Regions from separate parts of the Homo sapiens genome. Here all the other regions are linked to region 4. Evidence: promoter capture Hi-C in human tissues and cell types (Jung and others, 2019). All regions are on one chromosome and are shown on one strand. The core of a region is centred on a gene start or on the middle of the fragment in contact, and the rest is flanking DNA. Distances in the headings are between cores, read along the strand shown.

Region 1 (5,159 bases), core at 1,314-3,813, 740 kb after region 4:
CTCAGCCTCCTGAGTAGCTGGGATTACAGACACATGCCACCAAACCCTGCTAACTTTTTTGTATTTTTACCCAGGTTTCACCATGTTAGCCAGGATGGTCTTGATCTGCTGACCTCAAGTGATCTGCTGACCTGGGCCTCCCAAAGTGCTGGGATTACAGGCGTGAGCCACCGTGCCCAGCTGGCAGGTGTTTTTGTGTGTGTGCTTTTTTTTTTTTTTTTTTTTTTTTTTACCACAGGTGTTCAGTGAGTGTCTCCTTCACACTAAGGACTGTCCCAGAGTGTTGGTGAGGAAAGCCACAGCCAGCCCTGGCCTTGAGGAGCTTGTAACTCAGTGCAGGGGACAGACAGAGGAACACACAAATGTCACACAGAATCTGCACCGTGGTGAGTCCCACAGGGACAGTAGGTGTCTCCAGGAAAGCAACTTTGACAGAGCAGTCACAAAGGGGTCTCAGAGGGGGAGGCCTCTCAGCTGAGACCTGAAGGCTCAGAAGAAGCAGCGTGTGCAGAGAAAAACCACAGCAGCCGGCACATGCAGAGAAAAACCACAGCAGCCAGCGGTCACACGCATGGCCGGAGCATCGGCAGAACCGGATCACACAGGTCAACCCTTCATTTCGCAAAGGGCGTCCCCACCCGCCTTCTCACAGTAATGCTGTGGGGAACGTGTTTTTAATCCCTATTTTACAGATAAGAAAAGTCGAGGCTCTGGGAGGTGAAATGACCCCCACAAATCTCAGCACTCTGGACCCACTCCCAGGACTGTGTCCCTCTACGTGCCACCAGCCCACTCTCTCCAGGGACCCCCAGACTTAGCCCAGAAGGGTTTCTCTTCCTCTCCCTTGGCCACTTGGAGAAGCACCAGCTCAGCCAAGCCATGGCTGGGAGAAGGACTGGAGCGTCCGGCCACCTCCTCTCTCTGGGGCAACTGCAGCAGCCCCTGGCCAGCCCTCCCTGCGTCAGCTCAACCCTGACCCAAGGCAATGGGGGCAATGGGGAGGGTCTTCTCCAAACAGAAGCGCTGCTGGCAACAGAATTGAGCTGAACAGGGGAGACATGGCCCCATCTCTGCACTCACACGCTGGGGGAACTTGGCCAAATTCTGTCCCCGGTTTCCCATGCTAGATAACAAACTACCACAAACTTCACAGCTTCACACAGCCCTCGTGAGCCCGCAGCTGTGCAGGTTGAAAGTCCAGCCTCAGCATGACTGCGTCTCCACCCAGGGTCTCAACAAGGCTAAAATGGGCCGGGTGCAGTGGCTTACGCCTGGAATCCCAGCACTTTGGGAGGCTGACGTGATAGGATCACTTGAGCCCAGGAGTTCAAGGCCTGCCTGGGCAACATAGCAAGACCCCACCTCTAGTGAAAATAAAAATCATCCAGGCATGATGGTGCGTGCCTGTGGTCCCAGCTACTCCAGAAGCTGAGGCAGGAGGATAGCTTGAGCCCAGGAGGTGGAGGCTGCAGTGAGCTCTGATTGTACCACTCTACTCCAGCCTGGGCAACAGAGCCAGACCCTGTCTCTCAAAAAATAAATAAATAAATAAATAAATGTAAATAAAATGAAAGAATGATAATGGTGATGATGATAACAATAAACAAAGGCTATAATCAAGGTGTCTTCCCGCTGTGTTCGCATCTGGAGCTCAGAAACCTGTTCTAGCCTCAACTGCATGCAGTAGAATCCAGGTCCTCCAAGCATGGAATTGAGTCCCCGTGTTCTTGCTGGTCAGAGCCTCCCTTAGTTGCTAAAGGTGCCATCCCTCTTTGTCATGTGGTCCCTCCATCTTCAAAGCCAGCCTTGGAGAAGCTCTGACATGTCAAATCCTCCCACACTTTGAATCTCTCCCGTCTCGAGGGTCCAGTCTCTTTACAGTCTCACCTGCTCACCTGATCAGGTCAGGCCCACCAAGATGAACCACCTTTTTTTTTTTTTTTTTTTTTGAGACAGGGTCTCAGTCTGTCACGCAGGCTGAGTGCACTGGTGCAGTCATGGCTCACTGCAGCCTTGGCTTCCTGGGCTCAAGCAATCCTCCTGCCTCAACCTCCCGAGTAGCTGGGACTACAGGTGTGCAGCAACACACCTAGCTAATTTTTTAAATTTTTTTGTAGAGATGAGGTCTTGCCATTTGCCCAGGTTGGTCTCAAACTCCTGAGCTCAAGCAATCCTCCTGCCTCAGCCTCCCAAAGTGCTGGCTGGGACTCCAGGCATGTACCACCACGCCCTGCCTAATCATCCTCTCTCTTAAGGGCAACTGATTGGGGTCTTAACTGTATCTGAAAAACCCCTTCACAGCAGCACCTAGATTTGTATCTGACTGAATAACTGGGAGGAGGATGCATCCATCAGGGGCGGAAATGTGGAGGCCATGTCAGCATTCCACCCCATACATCCCCCTCTGAGGGGATGCTAGACCCTCAAGATCTGCCCTCCTTCCCAACCTGCTTTGCAAATGCGCAAAAGCCAGATGCCAGCATCTACAGTCAGCAAATGCCCCCCCCCCCCACATCACTTTGTATCTCTGTGGAACTCCCCTCATTTCTTTTGAGGGGTGGGAGAAAACAAGTCCCAACATTTAGAACCCTCCAGAGCTCTCAGCAGCCATGAAGCTCCAGACCAGCTGGAAATGGTCTCTCCCACTCCAGCATATGCTCAGGCCCTTGGAGCAATTGTTACATAGCCCAAGCAGAACCTTCTTTAAGGACTAATTTTTTTTTTTTAATTTTTGAGATTGAGTCTTGCTCTGTTGCCCAGGCTGGAGCACAGTGGTGCTAACATGGCTACTGCAGCCTCGACCTCCCTGGTTCAAACGATCCTCCCACCTCAGCCTCCCAAGTAGCTGGGACTACAGAAGCCGCCACCATGCATGGCTAATTCTTTATTTTTTGTAGAAACAGGGTTTCACCATGTTGCCCAGGCTGGTCTCAAACTCCTGGGATCAAGTGATTGTCCCACCTTGGCCTCCCAAAGTGCTGGGATTACAAGCATGAGCCACTGTGCCTGGCCAGTAATTTTAAAGTATGATATATGGCCAGGCACAGTGGCTCACACCTGTAATCCCAGCACTTTGGGAGGCCGAGGCTGGCAGATCACTTGAGGTCAGAAGCTTGAGACAAGCCTGGCCAACATGGTGACACCCTGTCTCTACTAAAAATACAAAAGTTAGCTGGGCGTGGTGGCGTATGCCTGTAGTCCCAGCTACTCAGGAGGCTGAGGCAGGAGAATGGCTTGAACCCAGGAGGCAGACGTTGCAGTGAGCCGAGATCTCGCCATTGCATTCCACCTTGGGCAACAGAGTGAGACTCTGTCTTTAAAATAAATAAATATGAGTTTGCTGAGGCTGCCATAACAAAGTACCACAGGCTGGGACTTAAGCAACAGAGATTTATTTCCTTACACTGAGATCAAGGTCAGCAGGGTTGGTTTCCCCTGTGGCCTCTCCCCTTGGCTTGTAGATGCCACCTTCTCCCTATGTCCTCACACGGTTGTCCCACACTAATATGTCTGTGTCCTAATCCAATAGGACTGGTGTCCCTATCATCTTCTCTTCTTATAAGGACACCGGTCCTATTGGATGAGGGCCTGCTCCAGTGACCCCATTTAACTATAATCGCCTCTTTAAAGACCCTGTCTCCAAATGCAGTCACACTCTGAGGGCCTGAGGATGATGACTTCAGCATAGAATTGGTGGGGCCTGGGGACACAGTTCAGCGCATGGCACACAACCCCTCATTGTTCCAGAAATCTCTAAAGTGCAAACGAATGTTCAGTTCTTATTACCGTTGGCTCTCCAACAGCTGCAATCGAGGGTGCTCCCAAGCAGGCCACAGATGCAGAAAGGTTCCCTTACAAACAGGCCAGCACAGAAGGCTAAGGATCCTCCTTTTTCAAGGAGGAAAAAAATGGTTTTTTGTGGTTCACACATAAGGAGAACTCACAGACTCAGTTTCACAACTTTAACCATGAGTCACAAGTTAGCACAGGACACAAAAACCCACTGGGCGGCTGAAGCGGCTGCAGAAACGCGGAGCTCCGCGAGCCCCAGAGACCTCAAGGGGCTGCTCTCTGCTCCAGCCGCACAAGATGCATTTCGGGAGTGATTTTCACTCATTGAGATTCAACAAGATCAACATAGAGGACCCTGCCCGCGATGGAAAAGACACACAATATACACAGGTGGTGAGGATGAGACCGGGGCGCCCTCCCAAGCCCACGGTCAGGACGGGCGGCCCTCGAGCCGACCAAACCAGAATCTTGGGACCCATGATCAAGCGGTGGGTGTTGCTAATGCTGAAGATAGCAGGATCCTCAAGGCAAACAGACCCACACAGGCAAAAAACAAAAAGGCCCAGATTCCCCGTGTCTGCCACCCAGCAGGGAGCCCGGGGGGTGCACTGAAGCCGCTTCCCCCAGAAATGCAGCAGCCGGGCTCCAGAGGCACGTGTCAGAAACCACACACATACACACACACACGTGGTACATGCCACATATCACACACATACACCACATACATCATACACACACCACACACATCACATACCACACATGTCACACACATACACCACATACACCATACACACACCACACACATCACATGGCACACACCACATATCACATGCACACACCACATACACCATACACACATACACCACGCACACACCACAGGCCACACACCACATATCACACACATACACCACACACACCATACACCACACATTACACACACATGCACCACACACATATACCACACACATACCATATAGCACACATATACCATACACACATCCCATGCCACACACCACAAACCATGTGCCACATATCACATGTCACACACACACACCATGTACCACATACATCGTACACCACACACACCCTGCACACACACACCACATATCACATACACACCACACACACATCACACATCACACACACATCAAACACACACACACCACACACACACACACCATATACCACACAGATACCACACACACACACACATACACACATACACAGCCCTTCTCTTGCTGCATGAGTCCACCCTGGGGAGGAGGGGCATGAGGGCACAGAGAGCCCACAAGATGCACTTCTGAGGCCACACACACAGCCCCATGGTCTGGAGCCTCAGCCTCATGGGCATGTAGCGTGTGTGCGTG
Region 2 (5,852 bases), core at 1,771-4,270, 720 kb after region 4:
GTTTTTTGTTTTTTGTGTTTTTTTTACTTTAAGTTCTGGGATACACGTGCTGAACGTGCAGGTTTGTTACATGGGTATACACGTGCCATGGTGGTTTGATGCGACTATCAACCTGTCATTTAGGTTTTAAGCCCCGCATGCATTAGATATTTGTCTTAATGCTCTCCTTCTTTCCCTACACAAATCAATAAACATGATATATCACATAAACAGAAGCAATGACAAAAACCACATGATTATCTCAATAGATGCAGAAGAGGCCTTCGATAAAGTTCAATACCTCTTCATGCTAAAAACTCTCAATAATCTAGGTATTGATGGAACATATCTCCAAATAATAAGAGCTATTTATGACAAAACCATAGCCAATATTATACTGAATGGGCAAAACCTGGAAGCATTCCCTTTGAAAACTGGCACAAGACAAGGATGCCCTCTCTCACCACTCCTATTCAACATAGTACTGGAAGTTCTAAACATTCATTGTTTTAAGGCCTACGTGTGTCCTCCTTTGTGACTACAGCCCCAGGATATTTCCAGAGTCTCGCCCAGCAAAGGCCCTCCTGGGGGGACAGCGCTCAGTCCCCTCCTGCTGCCAGCAGCATCTCTGCCGTCTCTCCAGCCTCCTCCTGAGACTCCATGTGGGCATCCCGCAGCAACCTTTCCTTTTCTCACCGTTTCTCCTGCCCACTCTCTGCTCACAAATCCCAATGTCCCTCTCCAGCCCAGACCCCAACGCCCCACCCGTTGATCCAGCAGACCTACGGTGTTCCTCCTGAAACCCAGCCTTCCCCACCACCTCCTCCCCTTCCCGCTCTAGCTCCCAAGCTCCTCATCCCGCTGGTGCCACTGCCATCCTTCCCTCTTGCAGCGAAAAGGTATTTGGCACCTTCCCCAGGCCAGGCCCTGAGGATACCCCAGTTAGCAAACCCAGGTCCTAGGAGAAAGTGGCGACCGACATTAGCTGGAGGCTTGGAGTCTGGATGAACCCTAAATAGACTTCAGGCACAGGCTGCTCCCAAAAGCCTTCCTGCTCCCAGAGTGGGGCAGGGACTTCTCTGACCTCCACCAGCCCCTGTATGCTCAGTCATACCATGTGGCTGCTCAGGAGTAGACAGCCCAGGGCTGGTGAGGTGCTCGGGAAACTCATGTAGACCCGATTTCTTCTAGCTTCCTGCTCCACCACCCTCAAGAGCATCTCTGTCTTCATGGTCAGAAGATAGCTGCTGGGCATCCAAGCATCACACCCACATTCCAGGCAGAAAGAAGAGAAAAGCTAAAGGCTGAAAGTTACAAACCATCTCCTTGGAAGGCTTTGTCATTTTATTAGAAGACAGAAGCTCTCTCCAAGGAGTTCCACCCACCTTTCACTGGCCAGAGCTCAGTCACACGGTTGCACGTGTCTGGCTGTAAGGGAACCTGGGAATTTGAAAGTTTTGTTTTCCAGTCTGTACATTACCGGGAGGTAAGGAAGGGGATTGGACTAGGTCATTCAAAGCCACCATCTCTGGTTCAAGCCTCCCATCGCAGCTCTCGGGAGGCTGGTGTGGACACCTTCCTGTTCCTATGCACCCTCCGCCCCTCTCAAATCCAACTCCTTTCCACCTCCTGCTCTTTGATGCCTCTCCTCCTGCTTCCTGACTGGACTTCCCTTCCGCTGCTACCCGCTCACTGTCCAAACCTAAAGCATCACTTAAGACTCAGCTAAAAAGCCACATTCCCACCCCAAGGTGGACCCCCACTGCTGGCCACCTGCACACCTCTTACCCACCCACTGTGGTATCGTGTCCACTGCTTGCTTTTCCCACTGGATGAGCCCCTTGTCAAGTACAGGGACCATGTCTGGCTTGGCTGTGTCTGCAGCACCCAGCCAAGTGGCCTCGGTGAGCACTTGCTGAGCTGAGCCACTGATCGGGGCTGAGTCAGAGCCAGAAGAGATGGCGCCATTTCCTCCTCCGCCCTGATGCTCAAGGAAGCAGGGAGGGAGAGAACAGCCCGCAGGAGGAGGTCTGCTTGTGTTTTGATCTTGGAAATGAACAAGGATGGGCTCTCATTAATCAGCGGAGACAGGGACAGACGCCGCTGTTTGTTTCCAGTAATAACAGACACCCAATAATAACAGGACATTGGTGCTGATGACTCCTCTCCTCCTGTCATAGGCACCAGGCAGGCTGGAAGGACCTCAGTCACCTCTCACGGAGCCAATGGGGAAACTGATTATCCCAGGAGGCAAGTGACCCACTACGTCACTCAGCAAATCAGTGCACAGCCAGGGGTTGCACTTCTGAGGCTAGGACCAGGGTCGCGAGTGGGATAGGAAGGACGACGGGCAAGGACCTGTGCAACCTCCTCCTTCCTAGAGACCCTTGAAAGGTGAAATCTGCTTTCAATCACTCTGTGGGGTCCTGTTTCAAGACCCCTTCCCAGAGGACAAAACAAGGACATGGCCAGTGTTATAGGCTCCAAACATCATCGGCCCTCCCCCCTTATTTCCCTCTGCACCCCCCACGATGGCCCCAGGCAGAGCCACCAGCAGCTCTCCCGTACGCTGCTCCAAGCAAGCCCTTAATGGTCCCCGCCATCGCCCCCTACTGCCCCCGACCCAGCCAGACCACAGGTCTCCTCCCCATGCAGTGGCTGCTGTGATCCCAGCACATCCATCCCATCACAGTCCCGTGCCAGCCTCTACTCCAACCCTATACCCTGGAGATCCTACATGACATCCACCCCCCACCGCCCCCTCACCTGGCTCCAGGCACGCGCCAGCCTCAGGGTCTCTGCTTTAGCCGTTCCTGCTGCCTGGACACTTGTCACCAGGTACTGGGTATTGGCAGGGCCCCTCCCTCACCTCCTGCAAGTCTCTGCTCAGTGTCACCTTTCTGACCGCCCTGTCTAAACCTGCCAGCTCCACTAGCACCCTGGTGCTCCCACCCCATCACCTGCATCATGTTTCTTCCCACGACCCATTTCCAACCCCCTGCTCTATGCTTTATATAAATATGCATTTGTATGCAGGGTCATCTGATTCCCCCACCAGATCAGCCCCTCCACGGTTGGGGCAGGGGGGCGCGCTCTGTCTATCCTGATCTCAGACCTCACTCAGGCCCCCAGAACAGTGCCTGGCACCAAGTGGCAGCCCACATCTTCACTGACCCGACAAAAAAGGAGATGAGCAGAGGGTGCCTTTTGGAGACTGAGAGGTTGTAGGCCTGAGTGTGGTAGTTACTGGCACCTCTAAGAACCTGGCCAGCAAGCCCAGAGGCTGCCTGGAGGAGAGGGTTTTGGAGAAGGCTGGTGTGGAGCAAACAGAGCCTGCCATGTAGAGCTGTGAGTGCCTGGTGAGGTCAGTGAGGAGGAGGGCCTGGCACGTGGCCACAGGGGAGCAGCTGACCTCTGCTGGGCACAAGCTTTGGTCCACACCTGTATAAAGGGCTGCACAGTGAATCCCTATGATAGCTTCACAAATTATGCACTGTTACTGCCTCCCTCCTACAGATGGGGAAACTGAGGCTCAGAGAGGCCAAGCGATTCCTTCAAGGTCACCCAGATAATGAGGAGACCAAGATTCAAAACCATGTGAGCCCTGACTCTTCACAGCAGTTTATTATTTCTCTTAATAAATAACACATTCAGTAGGGTTTGGGTCTAAAAGTCACCGCTTTGCTAGTAAAAAACTTCCACAAATGGCAGGTGCAATAAAGATGTGGTGATAGAAAACAGAAACTCTAGGAAAAGAAAGAATGGAGAGGCCAGGTGCGGTGGCTCACGCCTGTAATCCCAGCACCTTGGGAGGCTGAGGCGGGAGGATCACCTGAGGTCAGGAGTTCAAGACCAGCCTGCCCAACGTGGCAAAACCCCATGTCTACTAAAAACACAAAAATTAGTTGGGCATGGTGGGAGGCGCCTGTAGTCCCAGCTACTTGGGAGGCTGAGGCAGGAGAATCCCTTGAACTGGGGAGGCAGAGGTTGCAGTGAGCCAAGATCAAGCCACTGCACTCCAGCCTGGGCAATAGAGCAAGACTCCATCTCAAAACAAAATAATTAAAAAAAGAAAAGCAGGACAGGAAAAAAGGAGAGAAGGCAGGAAGGAGGACAGACTTGGGGGAATCATAAACTGGCATTAATTACCTGAAGACAAAATGGTTAGAAGCCAAGTACCTGCCCTGCAGGCCATGGAGGGGTCGACCATCGTTAGGGGCTGGAAGAAAACCCGCCCACTAGGAATGAGATGCGGGTCCTCAGGGGCCCATGCTCCAGCAGCAGGAGCCAGGGGGTCGCCTCAGAGCCCTGTGGTCCGGGACAAGACAGCTTCCCTCGAGCACCCTGCCGCCATCACCATCTGACTTGGGTGTTGAGATGAAGTTCATCTCACCCTGTGTCCTGATGGCATCAGTCCTCAAGAGAAGCCGGGGACCCCATCACCGTCTGCCTCATAAGGCCCTGCATATCCCTCCCACAGCAGTGCCCCCCTCGGCTCCTCTCCCTTCCCCTCCATGACACCCCCCGGGCTTCAGTCAACTGTCAACAAAACCACCTACACCTTCAGACTCTGCCTGAGTTAAATCCAGTCCATCCCCGAGGACCCTGCCACCCCCATGGGGTCTGCTCTCAGGGGGCTGTTCCCTCGCCCACATCCCACTGGCCATGGCGGTCTCCTTGTCCCTCACTGTGGCTTCTATGCCATTCTCCCTCCCTCCATCCTGAACGCCCCACACTCACCCAATTCACGCTGTTGGACTTTGTCACCCAACACCCTCCCTGCAACAGTTGCGGCCCACCCCCAAGTCACACCCCTCCTCAGTCACTGTCACCCCCTCAACACCACTCCTGATAGAATTCCTGGTGACTGCCGTGGCCACAGGCTTGATCCTCCCAACAGCCTGGCCTCTGGGCTCCCGGGATCCCCTTTTCTCATAACCTTCCTCCACCTGATCTCAGCCACCCACTCCCAGGGCCAGGAGTGATTTCAAATCCCTAACAGCCAGCCTGGGAAGGGGTGGCCCTGCAGACGGGTGTGGCCATGCAGGTGTGCACCAACCCTGCGTTCACCCCGCCCTGCGCCTCACCATCCGCAGCCACTGAAGCACAGAGCTCCTTCTCAGTGGGAAGCACTCACCGCCAGCCCCACCTTTCCAGCTCGGCGCTCTCATGCCCCAGCCCCGACCATCTCTTGCCCCCTCCTTCCAAACGAACACAGCAAGGTGGGTGGTGTTCTGAGCTTCACTGCTTTCTGACCACAGAGGAGTGAACCCAGCTCCGGCCGGGGGGGTACGCAGAATGGAGAATGTGAGCTGCGGGGCTGAGCCTCTTCACAGACTCAGGAACTACAGACGGCATTCTGTGGGATCCCCACAGAGGCTCCTAAGTAGGTGTGTGAGCTGCAGTGTAGACATTTAACACCATCTCAAGACAGAAAACCAAGCCCGGTTTTCCAGCCCAGCTGGCATTTCCCCTGCTGTGCTCAGAAACAGGGGCTGCAGCCAGACACCCACCGTGGGCAGAAGCTGGAAGGTAAAGTGACATCCCAGAAAAGTGGGGGCCAATCACAGGGGTGCCCCAAAAGTCACCCATGGCAAGTGTGCATCATTTTGCAAACACTAAGGTGCGATTTTCAAAGAAAAACAAGAGAGAATGCATCCAAAGAGAAACTGGAACCAAATACGCCAATTCCCCAGAACAAATAGACGGTCAGGACCGAGCTGCCCAAGCGTGAGCGAGATGAAACGATGCCATGGCAACCGCGCAAGCAGACGGCACCGAAGAGAAGGGAGAAGGAAGGGGGATCTCATAAGCCAAAGTGAGGCAAACAGCCCAACCCAGACCGCGTCAGCCACAAACAGGTGTGGCCTCCC
Region 3 (5,452 bases), core at 1,277-3,776, 520 kb before region 4:
GCTTGGAATGTCCCCATCTCTTCATGCCTCTGGTCTCACCTTAGATTGCTGGGTCCCCAAGAGTGTCCACTCTAAATTTCTCCCCTGGATAATATCTGGGTTCGAAATCTGCCAGTGGGGCCTATGAGATCCATGCCCCCCAGGGCTTCTCCTTCTTTGCCCTAGCCCCTAAGTCTCCTGCCCACCCCTGAAGGAAGAGAGGCATCAACAAGAAACACAACAGCATGACCCCCCTGCACACACACACACACACACATGCATGCACGTGTGCGCACACACACGGCAGGTGGCATTGCTTTCCGGGGGGGGCTACCCATCTGCTCAGGTGGGCGGCCTGTCCTAGACAGCTGCCCAGGGGAAGAGTGGAAAGGGGACAAGGAGGCAGGAACTGGAGGGGGCCCAGCCGGCAACTGGATGGCTGGGCCAGCAGGAACATCCATGAGGGCCTTCTGGGGAAGTGGCAACAGAGGGACACTGTGCAGGACTGGCACTGCCTCTAAGGCAGGGACCCAGAGGCCAGAGAGGGCCCATCTCCAGGCTTCTGTTTGGGAGGACTGGGGTCACTTATGAGACAGGACCAGCAGGGGCAGTGGGCCACAGATATGGCTCTTCCCACTTCCCAGGGGCCAGTATGTAGGAATGAGGGGTGGGAGCCCCTTGTGCCCTCACCCCTAATCTCCCACCTAGGCAGGTGTCTTCACTGGAATGGAAATGGATGGATGTTGATGAGGGGTGGGTGGAGCTATCTCCCAACACACCTTTAAACACTTGGGTGTCCTTGGTGTGGAGTGTGGGGAGAGGACATGGGAGTTTGAGGAGAGAGAGGGAGAAGCCACTTGTCCCCATCGGTTCTCTGCCATGCTCCCGCTCCTGTCTGGGCTGGAGACTCCCCTGCAGGGCGACCCAGCCCTCCTAGCACAGGCTGCTCCCTTTGACTCTGGTTTGCTTATGCTGGGGACATGCTGCTGGGGTTTCACAGTCACAGGGCTTCCACGGAGAGGGTCGTGGAGGAGACAGAGTCAGATACAGAGAGACACGAGGAGGGACACAGGTGGGGATAGGCACGCCCAGGAACAGTCACTCAGAGGTGAGGGACCCCAAAGCTTGGGAGAGACACCCACAGACACAAGGGGGATGATGGGGCAGCAGGGCTGGGCTTCCAGGAGGGGTGTTGCTGTGGAAGAGTCTCACAGGCCCAGCATCCTCACTCGGGGCACGCGGGACCACCAGGAATAGACCCTACGCCACCCATACCAGACCTCAGGAAGCCGGGAAGGACGTGCAGGACCCTCCCCCTGCCTCCCCCTCCAAGCAGAGCACCGGAGGAAGCGCCTCTGATGACGAGGAGGGGAGAATGTGACTCCAGCTTTTCGGGAAGCCCCTGAAGACAGAGAGCAGGAGGGGACCGGGTGGGAGGGTGGGGGGGTCCCCGTGAAACCCACGGGCCTGGGCCTGTGGCCTCCGGGTCTCCCCCTCCCCTTCCTGGGTCTGCTCCACCGACGTCCCGCGTCCGGACTCTCCTCCCTGTGTCTGTCCTCCGGATCCTCTGCCTTCCTTCCCTCTGTCTTTCCTCCCCGTCCTGTCAGACGGTCCCGGTCCCTCGTCTGCGGCTTTCCAGGTATCTCTGTCCCTCTCTCTTTCCCGGTCTCCCTCTCACCGCCCCCCCCAACCCCGTTTTTCTGCGGCGTCCATCTGTCCCCCGTCTCCTCCTCTCTCTCTCCCTTATCATCGGTGGGACCATCCCTCTTGATTCCCCCTGATCCACCGGCCTCCTCCTCCTTCCCCGGGCGGTGCGGGCCTCCTCTCTACCCTTCCGCATCTGTCTTTTCTCCGGGCTTCCTTTTGTCTGCTCCCTCGGCGCCGGCTCTTCTGTCCGTCTGTCCCGCACCTCCCGCCCCGTCCCGGTCTCTCGGTCCGTCCCTTTCCCCGTCCACCTCCTGGCGTGTCCCCCTCCGCCCGCCCCGCCCCGCGCCCCCTCTCCCAGGAGGAGCGCCCCTCTGCGCTCGGGGTCCCGCCCCGCCCAGGTCCGCACGCGGGGTCCCCGGGAACCGCCGCCTTTCTTCCTCGCTCCCGCGCTCGCGCTTCCCCTCCCGGGGCCCCGGCCCACCCACCCCTGGTGCGGCCCCGCCGGACTCAGGAGCCCCGGCCGCCCGGGCTGCGGGGAGGGGGCGCCCCGGGCCGGCCCTAGAAGTTACTTTGCAAAGAGGCAGGGGGCGCGGGGCCGCGCGGGGCGAGCTCGGGATCCGCGGGGAAGAAGCCCTCCGGGACCGCGCCTCGGCCGCCCGAGCCCCCCGCGCCCGCCGCCCCCCACCTCGGTCGGGGGCTTACCTGGGAGCCCGCTGCCCCCGGCCAGCCGCCCGCGTGTGCCCAGGGCCAGCAGCACGCACAAGTGCCAGCGCACGGCCGCCGCGCCCATGCTCAATGCGGGCCCCGCTGGGCGTGCGGGCGTGCGGGGCGCGGGGACCCGACCGACCGGCCGCTCCCGCAGGCGCTGCTCGCTGCTCGCCGCTCCGCCACCGCTCGGGCTCCCGAGCCGCCCAGCCAGCCCGGCTGATGAGCTGACAGCGCGCGCTCATTGGCCCGTGGCGTCGGAGGGGCGGGGCGTCGCCCAGGGCCGGCCAATGGGCGCCGGCCTCCGGCCCTCCGAGGAAGAGGGGGGCTCGGGCGTCGTCGGGGGGACCCTTCCCCTGGGGCGGGCGGCAGGTGGGGGGTGTGGGCCTGGCCGGCCGGCTCGCTAGGCGCGGGGTCTAGGCCAGGCTGGGGCTGCTTGGAGGCTGCGCCCTCCCCTGCCCGCGGCGCCCCGGCCCCCGCCGTCGAGAGTGGACGCCCCTCTGGGGTAACCCCTCCCGGCCCAGAGGCAGCCTCGGGGGCGGGGATCCTGCGAACCGGGGATCCCGTGAGGTCGCCCGCCATCCGTGGGCAGTGAAACGCGCCAGCGCGCAGAGCAGACTCGCCTGCGCTGCCGTTTGCTGGACGTTTCTTGAGCACCTACTGGGGACCGAGTGCGGGCGAGGCAGCAGCGAAGGAACCGGGAGGGGAAACCTCGTGAAGATCACTTGAAAATTGACGTTCAAAACAAACGAACTTTTTAGCACTCGTCAAAGGACAGTGGCCCGTCAGTGTGCTTGTCACGGGGCGGCCGCAGGACCTGCGTCTGGAACCGGGCGGGCGCCCGGGACGGACAATGCCGCTTGGCGGTCGGTCCCGCGGGAGGCCCCCGCACGGGGCTAACCTCGGCCGGCGAAGTTCGCTGCCCGGAATGCGAGGCCGAGGCCTCCCCCTGTGACAGACCGGGCGGGGCCAGGAGGAGGGGCAGGGCGGGCATCCCGGTCCGAAGACCCAGGAACTGCTCTGGCCTGGCCTGGGGTCTACACCTGACGCCTGGCGAGGGTTGGCTTCGGGTCTGGTCCCACCGGGCCTGGGAGGGACGGGCGGCTGGAAATAAATGGCCCCTCTCAGTTCCAGGCAGGACGCTTTAAGGGACGAAAGTTCAGCAAACCCCAAGGCCCATCTCCTTGACAACCACCAATAAGAGCTCCTTTTTTCTTCTCCTGCTCTCCAGGCCCAACTCAAAGACAACTCTTTTCTCTTTTTGTCCACTCTGCCTGCACCAGTTTGAGCCCCTCCACACCAGCTCCCTTTCCTGCCCCCAACACACACACGCACACACACACACACACACACACACACACACACACACACAGTCACACATGCAGACACATGCTCTCACGTGCAATCACTCAGACACAGCCTCACACCCTCACACCCTCCAGCACACACACGCTCACACATGCTTCTTCACGCCCTCATCCAACCTACCGTAGACGAGCTCCTCAGCCCTGGAAGGTTAAATCTGTGTCCAGCCAGCTCTCACACCCCATCTGACTTCACATCAGCTTGTGGCACGGGCCTGGTGGCTGAGGCAAGGGGTCCCCTACATGGGGATCGGGGGTGTGGGGGGTCCAGAGATGCCCAAAGAAGAAGGAAGCGCTGCCTGTTGTCTCCACTGAGCCCCCACCCCATTGCTCCAGACATTTCGGTCTGCACGGCTGCTCCTGGCTGCTGGTTTAATTTGGGAGATGCTGTTGACAGGCTTTATTTTGTCCCCGTCAATTGTGTAGCTTTGAGTTTCTGCAGGGGGTGGGGAGTTCCCTCAGAACCACATATTATCTTGTGCATTGGGCAACAGGGCAAGCAGTGTGAGGTGGTGGGGGAGGTTCTTCCAGGGGGCTCTGACCTACTTGAAACAATGCCCTCTAATGTGCCTGGTCATTAGGCACCCCCCCGCCCAGCCCTAGCCAGGTGCCCCTCAAGCTTGATGGCAGCAAGAGAAGCTTCTTCCAGGCTCCATCCCCACAAATCAAGGCAGGAATGGAGGCAGGTTACTCTGTGACCCCTCAGCCCAGAGGTAGCTGTCCCTTGTACCAAGTTGTAGTCCCCAGCCTGCCCCCAAGCGATTGCTCAGGTCAAGTTTGCTGGTGAATTATCACCCTCTAAGGTGTGCAGGCAGAGAGAAAGTGGTTCCTTCTAGGCAGCTGTTGTCTATGTGGAGGACTCAGCGAGCAGAGGAGGAGGGAAATGGAGAGAAGACACACCTGTAAGCCCCTCACAGGTGAAGGAAAGGAGGCGGCCTGTGGAGCAGAGAAAGAGGAGGTCACTTCTGCCCCAGGGCGCCGTCAGGGAGGCCTCTTAGGACAGGTGACCTGGGCTAGACACAGAACATAAAGAGGATATTTGCCTAATGGATGAGAAGAACAAATAGAGAATCTGCCAAGGTCCATGAGTGAAGGCGAGGACTGAATAAGTGAGCCAGAGAATGTTCTGGAAGCATCTTGAAAACTGCAGAGCACTGTATGCACATGACAGTGATGTGCTGGAGGGCTGCGTGCAGAAACGGATGAGTCTGTTTTGCACTGCGGTGGGCTGGCAGGTGGGAACCCATAGCCAGGCCTCCAGCACGGGATGGCTTGGAACCTCTGGATGCCAAGCTGGGATAGTGGAGGCCGAAGGCTGCTGAATTGCACAGTGACTTTGGCAGGGAGCACACTATGGCTCCTGTCACCTCCAAATGACCTATGAGCTCTCTGTGTTGCAAACAAGTCATCTCTTACCCCTTTGGGATGTAAGGGATGACTCAGCTTTATGTTCTGTCATCTTTCTAACGGTCCCTAGCCTCACCAAACTGCTGCAAAGGGAACCCCACAGCTGTCCTATTTTTCACACCCCAGAGCCTGCACCCTTTCCCCTGCCAGGAGCACCCTTGGTTTCCCTTCTTCACAGGGCCCACCCCTCCTCTTCTGCCCATACCCTGACCCCTGCCTCCAGCTGGGTGTGAGGCTTCCTCTGGGCTTCCGCAGTCCCCTGGAGTTACCTCATCAGAGCTTGGCTCGCTCTGGGTTTTACCTCTGTCTTCTCCTAGACTGGGGGTTCTCGAGGGCAGGGCTTGCAGCTG
Region 4 (5,277 bases), core at 1,537-4,036:
AGCAGAACTTTCAGCTGTGATGGGAACACTCCATATCTGCGCCACCCAATACGGCAGCCGCTAGCCCCATGTGGCTACTGAGCACCTGAAACATGGTGATGCTACTGAGGAACAGAATTTCCACTTTTATTTCATTTTAATTCATTAGATGTAAGCAGCCGCCTGTGGGCAGAGGGTCCTACGCTGGAGAGCACAGTCCTAACCCGCCATCTAAGCTAGAATGTCGCAAGCACAAAAAGAATCCGAGCAAGCAGCACGGGGTTGTGGGAAAAAATACCGGACAGGAAGCGAAGGCAGGATCTAATTATCATTGCCTTAGCCACCAGAAAGCCCCCACCACCCCTTTGAACCCCAGTTTCTCCATCAGCAGAGGGTGGGAAGGGGCTGACAAGGGACCAGGCCCTTCCGGCTCTGACCACCTGCAAGTTCATTAGGATCTCCTACACCTGGGCACTGGAAATCCAAGGAGGCCCGTGGGTTCCCTGCCATGGCAGGTGAATGGGGCACCTGTTAGTCCTGGCTACTTGCCCCAACCCCAGCACCAACCATGTCTCCCCCATCAGACTGAGAGCTCACTAAGGACAGGCACCAGATGGGGCCCTCTCGGCTTCCCCAGCCCCTAGCAAAGCATCTGGGCACAACAGGTGTTCAGGGCTTAAAAGTCAGCATTAACCACGAGCCTTTCCAGCGTGTGTCTGGACGTGGGCTAAGCGTTCTCACCCGCCATTTTGCTCATCCTCACAGCCACACATCAGCGGGCCGAGGTGGTCTCTTCTCCCTCCGCAGAGACCACAGCTCAATGGGATTCTATGATCTGCCCAGGGTCACTCTGCTGGTAAGCCGCAAAACTGCATTCAAACCCAGGACTTCCAACTCCGAAGCCAGGTTCTTAATGTGTAAGCACTGATGCCTGCTACAAATCCATCCCCAGTAGCAGATGGAAGGAAAGGAAAAGAAAATATGAACTGGGCTACCAGAAGTCCACTTGGAGGGGCCTCAGAGAAGTGACACAAACCTCAAAATCCCTAAGTGGCTGAGACTTCCAGCATTTTAAAGCCTCCAAGAAAGAAGGCTAGGTCCCCCTCCTTCTTGGGCCCTCACGGTTTTCCAAGGGCAACGGAGCACCCATAAGGCAGGGGAGAGGCTGGCCGTGGACCGGGAGACCTAGCTAGACCTGACCTCTGTCCCTCAGCAACTGTGTGACTCCGAACAATTTGTGCCTTCTCTGAGCCTCTGAAAAAAAGGTGTAAGAGTCCCTCACAGATTAACAGCGATAGAGCACTTGGCCCGCAGGACTTAATGAGTGGCCACAGAAGCCAACGACACGCTTAGCCATTCCTAAAGCATTTTAGGTCCCACCCCATGCGGCGACTGGCATGTGCTCAAGATAGCAGCCCATCGAACGCTCTGTTCTCCAACCAACACCCTCCACTGAGAGTCCCTACTCCAATCTTCCTCAGAAGAATGTCAGAGACCTGCCCTCAGGTGTCTGGAACTCCATACAGCTACAACAGCCAAGCCTACAGCTTTTCCTGAAACTGCCCGACTGCTGGTCCGGCGTGACCTTAGAGCCAGACACCTTCTAAACCACGCTGTGATTGCCTCAAATACAGTGGCAACAAGGAAATCCCAGGGCATGTTTACAGAACAGGAAAGCTGCTACCTCCTTTCCCTAAAAACCTCAGATGGGGTACTATACAATCTCCTACCTCAGGTCTGGAAACAGACCAGCCTAGCTTTAATTCCCAGGTCAGCCACTCACCAGCTGAGTGACCTTGGACCAGCCTCTTCCCCTCTCTGAGCCTCTGTGCCTAGACTGTAAAGTGGGAATGACCACCACTAGCTCACACAGCTGTTATTGTGAAAGTGACGTCAGCTAATGCTGGGAAATGTGAATGCCCCAGGTCCTGCCTCGGTGATGGAGGCAGCCCTGAAACAAGAGAATGTACAAGCAAGGCACTCCAGGCGGGGACTGGTCCCATCCCCCACCCGGAGCCCAGGCTGGAAAGGAGGGACGTTACGTTTCCACGCTGAAAGCCCTGACGCCCATGTTATCTCCCTTCCCAGGTGAACACCAGGACTTTGCACTCATCAAAGGTTGGGCAGGATTCAGGAACAGAGAGGTTGAGTGACCTGTCCAAGGTCACACAGCCAGCCAGGTAAAGGGAGAAGCAGGGATGGGTGGCGGCCCTGGGCCCATCCTCCTGCAGCGCCGGCCAAATAGGCTCCATCTCCACGGAAGGGGCCGCTCCCGAAGGTCTCTGACCTTGGTTTCCCCAGATGAGAACCAAGCCCCTTCCCACCCCCACCCCACCCCACCCCGCCCCGCAGGGATCCGAGCATCGGGAGAGCGGTGGGCACGGCAGGGGCGGAGGCCAAGGGCGACCACCCGGCCCAGCAGAAGCCCCGGGCGCGGGCGCGGCGTCTACGCGGCCGCGCTGCAGGGCTGGGGCATGGCGTGGCGGGCGCGGTCGGCGCGGGGCTCACCGGACTTGGGGTAGGTGACGATCCACACGTCGCTGGGCCGCACCGGGAAGTTGGCGATCTCCTCCATCTTCCCGCGGCAGAAGGGCGGCAGCCGCACGCCATGGAACTCGAAGTACTTGCTCTCGAACTCCCCCGGGGTGCTGGGGGTCTCGGCCTCGCTCTCCGCCATGCCGCCGCCGTCGCCGTCGCCGCCGCCGCCTCCCGGCTCGCAGCCCGCACGCGCCCGCGCCCGCGCCCGCGCCCGCGCCCCGCACACGCTCGCGCCCCACCGGCGCGCGGCGGCAGCTCCGCAGGCGTGACGTCATGGCGCCGCCGACGCGCGGCGGAGGCTCCGCGGGTATGACGTCATGGCGCCGCCCGGCACGCGGCCGCGGCGCTGCACGGGCGTGACGTCATGGCGCCGCGGAGCCGCGTCCTCCCCGCCCCGCCCCCGGCCGGGGTCACCCACCCGCTGCCGGGGCTGACAGAGACCCTGGCCCGCGGTCTGCAGCCTCCTCAGTCGTGCGTGCGTTCATTCCGCTCATAGCTTCTGTCACTCAGCAAGCGCTCAACACAGACGCATGAGATACCCTGGCTGGAAGGCCCTGAAAGGTAGTCGTCCATTCAACACGTGCTTAGCGCGCTGCTGATCTGTGCCAGGCACTGGGCCAGGGCCCCGACACGCGTCAGGGTAGAAGCAAGCAGAAGCCTGGCCCTGTTGGAGCTTACATTGGTAAATAACCAAGATAATTTCAGGTAAATATTAGGTCCTATTAAAAATATGCGTCTTCGCCAGGCGCGGTGGATCACGCCTGTAATCTCAGCACTTTGAGAGGTCGAGCACGGGCGGATCTCCTGAGGTCAAGAGTTCGAGACCAACCTGGGTAAATGGTGAAACCGCATCTCTACAAACATACAAAAAAAAAAATTAGCAGTGAGCTGTGAGCTTGCACCACTGCACTCCAGTCTGGGCAACAGGACGAGATCTTCTAACAACAACAAAAAAAAAGTATGGGCCACCTAGTCCAGCCAAAAAAACAAAGTGCTTTTTTTTTGCTTTTTTTTTTTTTTTTTTTTTTTTGAGATGGAGTCTCGCTGTGTCGCCCAGGCTGGAGTGCAGGGGCGCGATCTCAGCTCACTGCAAGCTCCACCTCCCGGGTTTACGCCATTCTCCTGGCTCAGCCTCCCGAGTAGCTGGGACTACAGGCACATGCCACCATGCCTGGCTAATTTTTTGTATTTTTTGTTTGTTTGTTTTAGTAGAGACGGGGTTTCATCGTGTTAGCCAGGATGGTCTCAATCTCCTGACCTCGTGATCTGCCCACCTTGGCCTCCCAAAGTGCTGGGATTACAGGTGTGAACCACCTCGCCCAGCCAAAAAGTGCTTCTTAATATCCCATGAGTAGGGGAGGGGAGTGTTGGATTGCAAATTCCAGGACCCCAGATCTATGGAGAAAAATTACAAAAATATACATTTAGTAAGGCACTTCTTGTGCAAACTATAATTTGAGAGCAACCGAGTTCTAGAGATCTCAGTGCAACCCCTTGCCAGTCATGCACTCAACAGACATATATGAAGCACCTACTAACATGCCTGGGGAAGCACAAAGATGAAAACAACACAGCCTGCTCTCATTCTCTGCAGCCGAGCATCATCAGCTGTGTAAAGGAAAAGAATGATTCCTACCTCTAAGTAGTGTAGCCAGGAAGATGGAAGGAGTTTACACCAACAAGAATCTGGAGCAGAGTGGCTGGACGGGACCTATTCCTACTCTCTCCTTCTTACTGTAGAGTGAGACACGTGCATTCTGACACCAAAGACATACACATGGGCTGAGAAGCGCAGGCCATGTGTACATAGCAGACAGAGAGAGGAAACAGCAATTAATCCTGACTTGGGAAGCTTGTAGATGTCTTTCCAAAAAAGAAAGAGGACATTCCGAGCACCCAGCCTTTATTCAGAATAATTAGGCCAATGGCAAAAGGGCATCTAGCCAAAAGCTAGAGGGATTGAGTGAATGAATGAATATCCTGATGTTTCAGGTGAGGGTTCTCACTGTGGGAGAAGGAAAATGTAAGTGGGGAATGCGAGAAGGCAGGGAAGAACTCTATGGTATTGGATTGGAATTGGAGGTATTGACATGAGTTTATGATATTTTAAAATTCCTATTTCTTATATTTGCTGGAAAAGCCTTTAGGCAGTGATATCTCAATAATACTAGGCATACCCACTGCCCAGATCTTTGCTAAATACTTCCCTCACCAAATGAACCTGGGGTTTCTTGGAGAAAAAGCCAACTCCAGGGCAAGGAAAGTACAAGATGAGCCTAAAATGTCTTGTTGAGTCTTGAACTCCTGCAAGTTCAAAAATGTTGGGAATAGGTCAGAAGGACACAGGGTATAACATGAAAGTATTATCATAGGTCAAATCGGAAACAATTTGAGCATGTTAGACAAAAATGGGAAAAAACCCACGTACCCAACAGTAGAATAGATAAATTGCGATATATTCATACAATGGAATACAGTAATTTTTTTAAAAAAGGAATGTAACTGAGAAGAATGTCACAGTCAAAATGATGAACAAACTAAGTCAAGCACAAAAAATGGTATGTCATATGATTCTATTTATATACAGTCAAAACCAAGCAAAACTGATCTATAGTGATAGAGGTGAGAATAGTCTTAACCTGGGGCATTGGAAAGAGGGTTGACTGGGAGCAGACTCAAGGTTACCTACCCTCCATAGTGTTGGAAACATCATAGCTTGCTCTTAGTGGCGGTTACATGAAGATATAGACATAGATAAAA

The links. The method cuts DNA at HindIII sites, captures the fragments that hold promoters and counts their contacts. A contact is called where the count stands out against the background at its distance.
Region 1: a contact is called between a fragment that was not itself captured here and the fragment with the promoter of SULT4A1 in region 4, in 1 of the 25 tissues and cell types used here (lymphoblastoid cells).
Region 2: a contact is called between a fragment that was not itself captured here and the fragment with the promoter of SULT4A1 in region 4, in 1 of the 25 tissues and cell types used here (dorsolateral prefrontal cortex).
Region 3: the fragment with the promoter of SCUBE1 here is called in contact with the fragment with the promoter of SULT4A1 in region 4 in 4 of the 25 tissues and cell types used here (H1 embryonic stem cells, IMR-90 fibroblasts, mesendoderm cells and 1 more).

What each region holds. Positions count from the first base shown.
Region 1 is chr22:44,600,034-44,605,192 of GRCh38, forward strand. No RefSeq gene overlaps it. Among named protein-coding and RNA genes, the nearest start is that of LINC00229, 23 kb to the right of the region's middle. The HindIII fragment of the contact is 5,775 bases long and covers 1-5,159 here.
Region 2 is chr22:44,581,384-44,587,235 of GRCh38, forward strand. No RefSeq gene overlaps it. Among named protein-coding and RNA genes, the nearest start is that of LINC00207, 15 kb to the left of the region's middle. The HindIII fragment of the contact is 4,820 bases long and covers 611-5,430 here.
Region 3 is chr22:43,340,846-43,346,297 of GRCh38, forward strand. SCUBE1 (signal peptide, CUB domain and EGF like domain containing 1) reads right to left here and starts at 2,527. Exons shown (of 22, transcript NM_173050.5): 1 at 2,329-2,527. The coding sequence starts at 2,416. The HindIII fragment of the contact is 4,801 bases long and covers 553-5,353 here.
Region 4 is chr22:43,859,727-43,865,003 of GRCh38, forward strand. SULT4A1 (sulfotransferase family 4A member 1) reads right to left here and starts at 2,787. Exons shown (of 7, transcript NM_014351.4): 1 at 2,488-2,787. The coding sequence starts at 2,656. RefSeq lists an enhancer at 603-1,102. The HindIII fragment of the contact is 9,350 bases long and covers 1-5,277 here.